3 separate regions of the Homo sapiens genome follow, and all the other regions are linked to region 3. Evidence: promoter capture Hi-C in 16 types of primary human blood cells and fetal thymus (Javierre and others, 2016). All regions are on one chromosome and are shown on one strand. The core of a region is centred on a gene start or on the middle of the fragment in contact, and the rest is flanking DNA. Distances in the headings are between cores, read along the strand shown.

Region 1 (2,878 bases), core at 15-2,514, 940 kb after region 3:
TATGGAGTGCACTTACACAAACCTAGATGGTATAGTCTACTACATACCTAGGCTACATGGTATAGCTTATTGCTCCTACGCCTCAAACCTGCACAGCACATTACTATACTGAATACTGTAGGCAATTATAACACCATGGTAAATATGGCTCAAGCCTGTAATCCCAGCCCTTTGGGAGGCTAAGGTGGGAGGACTACTTAAGCCCAGGAATTTCAGACCAGCCTGGGCAACACAGGTTAGGAAGACCCCGTCTCTACCAAAAATAAAACAATTGCCCAGGTATGGTGGCATGTGCCTGTAGTCCCAGCTACTCAGGAGGCTGAAGTGAGAGGACTGCTTGAGCCCAGGAGCTTGAGGCTGCAGTGAGCTATGATCACACCACTGCACTCCAGCCTGGGTGACAGAGCAAGGCCCTGTCTTAAAAAAAAAAAATGAAAAAAAAAAGGATAAAAAATGGTACACCTATATAGGGCATTTACCATGAATATAGCTTGCAGGACTGGAAGTTGCCATGGGTGAGACAGTGAGTGAGTGGTGAATGAATGTACTGTAGACTTTATAAACACTGTACACTTAGGCTACACTAAATTCATGTGTAAAAATTTCTTTCTTCAATAACAAATTAACCTTACCTTACTATAACTTTTTTACTTTATAAACTTTAAAATTGTTTTAATGTTTTGACTCTTCTGTAATAACACTTAGCTTAAAACACAAACACATTGTATAGCTATACAAAATACTGTATTTTCTTTTTTATATTCTTATTCTATAAGCTTTTTTATAATTCTAAAAGGTTATTGTCTTTTGAAACTTTTTAAACTTAAAAACAAAGACATAAATGCACACATTAGCCTAGGGCTTCACAGGGTCAGGATCCTCAAGACATCACTATGCGAAAGGAATTTTTCAGCTCCATTATCATCTTATGAGACCACCGTAGTATATGTGGTCCAATGTTGTATCACATGACTGTATAACTAGAGACATCTTGCTCTTTTACTCCCAGCTGTGGACAAACAAGAAACTTTGCTGTTGTGGCTGCAGGAAGGCGACCCAATGTTTCTCTAATACTTTGTACAACGTAGTCCTCATGCCCACTATGTGTAACAGGTCACAAATATTCATTAATAAAATATAGTCAAACCTTTAGGAGTTCACAATCTAGTGAGAGAGACAGGCATCATGGTGCACTGTTGTTTTTCCAAATGCCCATTGCTAATCTGTTCATTTTATTCTTCTGTCAAAGCAGTAAAGACAGAAGAGAAGATGTGAGTCATCCCAGAGTCACAGCCCTCTGGAAATGCCTGAAATCCATTCTTTCCTGTCCCTCAGATTACTGTAAGGACTTCAAGGTTCTCTCCGACCCTTATAGCTGTATGAAAACACTTTTTCTGATAGGAGAGCCTCCACCCTCTCTCTAAGGAAAGTAAATCCTTTCTTAGTCAAGCTCTCCCTTTTCCACACTCCGGTCTTTCCCTGGAATGTCTCCTCTGTCCTTCCTCCCCTCCTCCTTTCCCATTATACATCTCACTAACCCTCAGGAAAATAGCTTTAAAATTTTCCCTCTGGAATGGGGCCCAGTCCACAGAGCACCTACCTTTGGTATAAGTCAGATGTTAAACTCAATTACCTACGAAGGCCAGGCAGAACAGCGTTCTTCTGACTTTGTTTGCATATTAAGTTCATGGAACATTCTCTACTTTCACAAAGAAACATGATCATTTTTTTCTTGAAATATACAGCCCTTAGTTAAGCTTTCATTTGCACAGTTTTGACAGATAAGAATGCAAGAACTATTTCTTTTTCCTCCCAATTCTACTCTAATGTTAGTAACTGGCAGAGGACCTTCTGAGTAACAGAGAACATTGCCCTCTAAAAGGCTACTCAGCAGCCACTGTTTGCCAGATGGAACATGGGCCTGGTGTTGCTGTGTTGCTAGATCTTCTGACCTTTCAGGAGACAAAAATCCAGATATTTTTATGAAAAATCATGTTTTCAAAATGCTGATGTGGACGAAAGAAAGAGAGATCAGACTGTTACTGTTGTCTATGCAGAAAGAAGAAGACATAAGAAACTCCATTTTGTTCTGAACTAAGAAAAATTCTTCTGCCTTTAGATGATGTTAATCTGTAACCCTAGCCCCAACCCTGTGCTGGCAGAAACATGTGTTGTGTTGACTCAAGGTTTAATGGATTTAGGGCTACGCAGGGTGTGCTTTGTTAAAAATGTGTTTGCAGGCAGTATGCTTGGTAAAAGTCACCGCCATTTTCCAGTCTCAAGTACCCAGGGACACAATGCACTGCGGAAGGCCGCAGGGACCTCTGCCCAAGAAAGCCTGGGTATTGTCCAAGGTTTCTCCCCACTGAGACAGCCTGAGATATGGCCTCGTGGGAAGGTAAAGACCTGACCGTCTCCCAGCCTGACACCAGTAAAGGGTCTGTGCTGAGGAGGATTAGTGAAAGAGGAAGGCCTCTTTGCAGTTGAGATAAGAGGACGGCATCTGTCTCCTGCTCATCCCTGGGAATGGAATGTCTCGGTGTAAAACCCGACGTACATTCTATTTACTAAGATGGAAAAAACCGCCTTATGGCTGGAGGTGAGACATGCTGGAGGCAATACTGCTCTTTACTGCACTGAGATGTTTGTGTAAAGTCAAACATAAATCTGGCCTATGTGCACATCGAGGCATAGAACCTTTCCTTAAACTTATTTACGACACAGAGACCTTTGCTCACATGTTTTCCTGCTGACCCTCTCCCCACCATTATCCTATAGTCCTGCCACATCCCCCTCACCGAGATAGTAGAGATAGTGATCAGTAAATACTGAGGGAACTCAGAGACCAGTGCCGGGTCCTCCGTATGCTAAGCGCCGT
Region 2 (3,000 bases), core at 251-2,750, 760 kb before region 3:
CCAGCCCCAGGCTCTGGTGATTCTCCCACCTCAACTTCCCAAGTAGCTGGGATCATATGCATACACCATCATGCCCTGCTAATTTTTAAATTGTTTTGTAGAGACAGGGTCTCCCTATGTTACCCAGGCTGGTTTTGAACTCCTGGCTTCAAGTAATCCTCCTGCTTCAGCCTCCCAAAGATCTGGGATTACAGGTGTGAGCCACCATGCCTGCCCAGTGTACACTTTTAGATGGTGAATTTTATGTGAAGCATATCTCAGTTCAAAAAATCTTATTAAAAAAAAATCAGCCCAGCATGGTAGCTCATGTCTAGATCATTCTGATTCCAAATCCCAACCTTAACTTCTGTGCTATATAGTTTCTAGCTAAGGGTTCCCTCTTCTGTCAGCTGTCTTCAGAAATATACCATATTCTCTGAGGACATTTCTCTTTTGAGTCTTCAAACACCAGAGCTTACATGATGAACTGTTTAAAATTTTTTAAAAATTAAAAAAATGAAAAACATCAGAGCTGCTGCTTGGATGAAATTTTGACACGTGGAAATTTTTTTTCTACTGTATGTCAGCAGTGAGGATGAAGATATACTATTCAAAGATGAGATGAATTAAGAACAGTAAAATGTTTTGGCACCATAATTTGTGATTCTTCTTAGGAAAAGGTCATTCGTGCAGCCCCATGGCAAGAAAACAGTTTTAGTTTTAGAGAAGTATTACATACTATAACTTTTTTGTTGGACTAAAGGGAGTTTTGTTTTTCTGGTTTCTTTGAGGACTCTGGATCTGAACGTTAAAAAATCCTCTGGGTGGAGTACTCAAGTGAATTTTATTTATTAAATGCTGTTTTAAAATCCATTCCCTTAGTGGTAGAAAAATATTGTTATGGGCTGAGGACAGAGAGCATCTATAAAAATGGGATACATGAGATGGTCATGGGTTAGAGTGCTAGAGTGTAGGAGAAAAACAAAATGTTTTTCAAGTTTTTCTTTTCCTGCAAAGAAACTGAAGTTTGGAATAAAATTATGAAGAAAACAGTCTAATAGCTTACCCTTGTGGTTTTTCCCAGTATCCAGGCTGTAGAAAACAAAGACAGTCAAAAGGAGGCTTTGTGAGCCCCCTCATATAGGGGTCAAATGTATTCATGCACAGCCTGTTAACCTTGGCATCATTCCTTCATCTCCCCAGTCTTGCAGCTTTCAAAATGTTATTGCCTACTGGCCCCAAAGGCAAACAACTTGCAATGTATAATATGCCCTATATTAATGCCTTGCAGTCCATGCATATGAGGAAACCAATCCATCAACAGACGCCCTTAGTGACAGAGTAGGAAACTACTGCACAAAGAAAATCCTGGGAATCAAATACAATACCAGAGGCAGTCACGGCTCAATTCGCTCAGTCATATATAACTTTTTTTTTTCACTTACTTGTAATCAATTGGAATTTTGCCTTAATTATATATGTATAGGTATATATATTTAAGAAAGCAGTGTGTAATCATCTATGTTGAAACGAATTTGTTAATCTTGTACAAGGCTGGCACATTCACCCAAAGGGATTCTCTGCCAATGTGAAAATTAACTCTGTAGCTCTGAGCCTCTCCTTCCCATGGATTCAGTGTATGAGAAAAATTCTTGGCCAATCACAAGTGCTATACAAACTAAAAAATACTATGATGCACTGGGCATGGTGGCTTACACCTGTAATCCTACCGCTTTGAGAGACTGAGGTGGGAGGATCCCTTGAAGTCAGCAGTTTGAGACCAGCCTGGGCAACATAGGGAGAGCCTGTCTCTACAAAAATATATATTTTTTTAAATTAGCCAGGCATGGAGGCTCGTACCTGTAGTCCCAGCTACTTGGGAGACTGAGGTGGAAGGATCACTTGAGCCCATGAAGTCGAGGCTGCAGTAAGCTGTGACTGCACCACTGCACTCCAGCCTGGGTGACACAGTGAGACCCTGTCTTATATAAACAAACAAACAAACAAATAAATAAATAAATAAGTAGCTATTATCATCATCCCAATCTTAGGAATCCAATATCAGCTTGATAGTCACTTTTCAGGTCAACAATATCGTCAAGAAAAGTGTTGACACTCAGCTAATAAAATGGCAGAATGTTACCCTAGGATGTTATTGTGTCTGCCTTCTATTATCCCAAGATACAGGAGAACATTCATTTTTAAACTTCTCAAATGTGGAAAACAAACCCATTTGCTAAGATGATTTCCAATTTGAAATAGTTTCCAGCATTATATGAGCCACTCCCTGTACACCAAAGAGACATTCCCTTTACTTAATTTTATATCCCACTCGTGAAACATTTTCATGTGTTGGACCTACCAACTCCAACTGGATACCACTGACAGGAAGTGAGAAGGGTATGAGCCCTGGGGTAGGCATGCAGGGTGGGGAGACTGGCTTTTAGCTCTGGCTCTGGTTTTTACTGGAGTGATAACCTCTAAATTCTTTTCTAGCAACAGTTCTACAAATAATACCCCTTTCTCCTTCCCCGTTTCTTTCTACAGACTATTTCTTCAGTCATCCAGAGGCCGATGTAGGAGTCATTTATGAGTCCCTCAGTCTTTTATTCCCCCTATTCAATCAGTCATCAAGTGCCTCAGTCTTTCCTGAGAACATCTCTCAGATCAGGTCTTTCTGTCATGACTCTGCTTCTCTGTTGACTTCCTGTGGCCTGACAGGCTGAAGCTAAATATGTGGAATAGAAGACTCCTCAAAACCTGCCCTTTACCTCAGCCTCTAGTTGTATCTTCTGCTGCTTTCTCCCCACTGTGACCTTCTGCCCCAACCACACATACTCTCTCTCTCTCTTTCTCTCTTCTGTTTATGTTCCGTATTAGTTTCCTATCACTACTGTAACAAATTACCAAAAACTAGTACTATATGCAATACAAATTTATTATCTTACAGTTGGATCAGTCAGAAGTCTGACAAGTCTCAATAAATTAAAATCAAGGTGTCAATAGGGCCGTATTTCTTCT
Region 3 (2,940 bases), core at 424-2,923:
GAGAGGGTTAGGAGATGTAACTTGATAACTTCCTAGATTTGAGATAAGCACGTATTCTAATATAACTTCTTTGGCTGTGATGCACTGAGGATCAGCTGAGGGATACCTCAGCTGTTTCCTATCCTGAATAAAAGTTCCTGGAGTAAGAGGAAAAGAGTGTCCAACATGGTAAAGAATGTCAATTTATCCCTACCCTTTCATTGCCCCTACTTTCTTTTAAACTTGCATATTAATCATTTGATACTGTTTTTGGGTGAGATAAATACTTGCTTCCCGCAATAGGTGACAGATGAAAGGATTTTATTGTCATATACTAAGAGTGGCATCAGCAGATAAGTGGAACTGTACCTAATTACTGCCAGAAAAGGCAGTTCAGGGTGAACTCCTTTAAAACAAAAATTATCACCCTTTGTATAATTTCTCTAACATCAAATTGACTTATATCCAAGAATCACAGAGCGGATCAAATCATTCAGTTCTTTGGGACTATAATTAACATCCAATTCAACTTAGAAGGTTCATAAGGAAATTCCGCGGCTCAAAATTAGGCGTTAGGTGGGCATTTTACTGAGGGTTTTTTCCCTACGGCCACATGAACAATAAGTAACCCGTCCTTTAAACATTTTTCACACTAAACATTATGCCATGTTCCAAGGCACAGACCATTGCAGCCTCCGTCCCCTCAGCGGCGTAAACACTTGGAATGGGCATGCTGCCCCGTTACTTAGTATTGAGAAGTGGTCACTTTTTGCTCTTCTTAGGTGAGTGTAAGCGACTGCCTTCCCCACTTTAGGTGAACCCCAGGACTTGGAGCGTCTGTGGGTGCTCCTCTAATGGGGACAACTCCTCCCTTCCGACTCCATCGCAGAGAACCCAAAGTTCGAAACCAACAGAACGAAAAGCAACGAAGCACACTTAAAGTGAGGAACCCGGCAAGCGGCGAAATTCTTGCTGAAGAGAAGAAAAAGCGAAAGGTTTTCCGCTGCAACCAATCAGATGAGAGGATTCTTGGCACGCCCCTTTCTATCTACCAATCAACATCTAGCTCAATGGGGCAGTCCATTGCCACAGGGAAAGGGCTTGGTGCAGCTTCCCTCACAACACACACGTCATTCTAGGCCATTCCACGAACTGTGCTCAAAAGAGGAAAACAGTGCAACAGTTCCAAAGCTGATCAGTCTCGTGGTGAGCAGCGAAACTATAGACTTCTCTAACAAAACCATGGATTCTAGGAGGGACTGGGAAAGAGAAAAACGAATTCTGGAAGGCAAACTACAACTCCCAAAGGCCCTTGCGCGGACTCAGCGCGCGAGGGACGAAGGGCGGTCCACTGTAAGGGGAAATGCTGAGGATCACTGGGCTCCTCCCGGCTTTCTGAACGCAAGCCAGCAAGTGGGCGGGACCTGGGGCGGGCGGAGCGGCGAGAGCATCTGCTCCTGCGCTTTGTGGTCTCCTGCCTCCGGCTTCTCCGCCTGCGACGTCGAAGGGGGCGTGGCCTGCGCAGAGGCTGGTGGGGGTGCGGGCGCCGCGGGACTTGGGTGACGCGTCCCTTTCCAGCTCAGCGGTGTGTGAGGTGTCGCGGCCCCGCCGGCGATTGGCTGTTGAGAGGCGAGTACGCGGCGGCCGTTGGTCGCTGGCCTCACGGAGCAAGGCCCCCGGCGGGCGGGGAGGATATGGGGCGGCAGTGGCGGCTGCAGGAGGCGGGCGTGGACGAGCCGGTGGCTGCAGCGGCGGCGGTCCCCGGAGTCCTGTGAAGCGCCCCTGTCCGCGCCTCTGTGGGGCCCTCAGAGAGGGCTGCCAGGACGCGAGCCACTGAGGAGCCGCTCAGCCAGCGCCATAGCCCTTAGGACTATCGGTCACATTCTCGCGCTCCTGCTCCGGCTCCTCCATCTTGGCCTCGGCAGTGGCGGCTGCCGGGAGGATGTGCCGCCTTCTGGCAGGGGGAAGAAGGAGGAGAAGATGAAGAAGCACCGGCGGGCCTTGGCCCTGGTCTCCTGCCTCTTTCTGTGCTCTCTGGTCTGGTGAGTAGCCGCGACGACAAGGGAGTTCCCGTGAGGGGAGTAAATGGGAGGGAGCAGCCCAGGTCACACCCCCTGGTCATTTTGGCTTTTAGGGTCCGGGTTTCCAAGGCCCCCGTGGAAGGGACAAACCGATTACTTCTCGACTCTCCATCTGACTGGTCTGGTAGTGCTCTGTGCGGAGATTTTCATGGTGTATTTTGGAATTTACAGAGACTCAGTGGGAGAGAGAGAGGTGCCAAGGTAGAGGGAACCACCAAGTGCCTTTGTACTCAGTTCCTCTACCCCTTGGAGACGGTGCAGGGTTTGGGGTGGGTGTTCAGATTGATGGTAAGTAAGTTGCTCCGATTTGCCGCCAGTCTTTGCGTTCTTAGTGTGGTAAGGGGATAAAGCACGTCGGATGTGATGCGTTCCGGACGTGCGATTTTAAAACGTGAGTGGTCATGAAGGTAAGAGTAATGTATAAGCAGTAGTTCTCCTGGACATTTCTCGCACAGCGTTTGATCCCAAGTACACTCGGGCCGCTGTTTTTGGAAACTTGGGGGGCGTGTGTGTATGTGTGTTATGAAGCACTTTTTCAATTGGTTTGGTGGAGAGGGTGTCTTAGATGTAGTGTGTGTAGTAGTTTTTGGTAATGCCCCTTAGTGACGGGAAGGTAAATGCTGTATTTTCAAGGCGGGAAGAGTGCTTTGTCCCTAAAGCACTCCTTAAGTTTTACGGAGTTTCTGTTAATCCCAGGCACTTCTGGAGTTTTTTGAGGAGCAGAGAAAGCTTGTAAGTCGAGGGACTGCTGTCACCGTACTTGGAAAAGCCATTCTTTCCTCCCAGGGAATTTCTTCAAAGATGTGTGACAATTGATGACTGAAAAGATGCTTCTTCAGTCTAGGCGATTTGCTGTTTGTTATATTAAAATAGAAATTAA

Evidence for each region. Contacts are between HindIII fragments. The CHiCAGO score rates a contact against its expected background, and 5 or more counts as called.
Region 1: a contact is called between a fragment that was not itself captured here and the fragment with the promoter of SUCO in region 3, in 3 of 17 cell types (neutrophils, fetal thymus and activated CD4 T cells). The highest score is 9.5, in neutrophils.
Region 2: a contact is called between a fragment that was not itself captured here and the fragment with the promoter of SUCO in region 3, in 7 of 17 cell types (neutrophils, total B cells, fetal thymus and 4 more). The highest score is 11.5, in neutrophils.

Annotation. Positions count from the first base shown.
Region 1 is chr1:173,472,415-173,475,292 of GRCh38, forward strand. The region is part of intron 1 of LOC100506023 (a long non-coding RNA gene); the gene reads right to left. Among named protein-coding and RNA genes, the nearest start is that of PRDX6, 3.5 kb to the right of the region's middle. The HindIII fragment of the contact is 981 bases long and covers 775-1,755 here.
Region 2 is chr1:171,774,961-171,777,960 of GRCh38, forward strand. No RefSeq gene overlaps it. Among named protein-coding and RNA genes, the nearest start is that of METTL13, 5.2 kb to the right of the region's middle. The HindIII fragment of the contact is 4,827 bases long and covers 1-3,000 here.
Region 3 is chr1:172,531,477-172,534,416 of GRCh38, forward strand. SUCO (SUN domain containing ossification factor) reads left to right here and starts at 1,674. Exons shown (of 24, transcript NM_014283.5): 1 at 1,674-2,021. The coding sequence starts at 1,960. RefSeq lists enhancers at 873-982, 1,043-1,292, 1,903-2,062 and a silencer at 1,613-1,782. The HindIII fragment of the contact is 4,223 bases long and covers 1-2,787 here.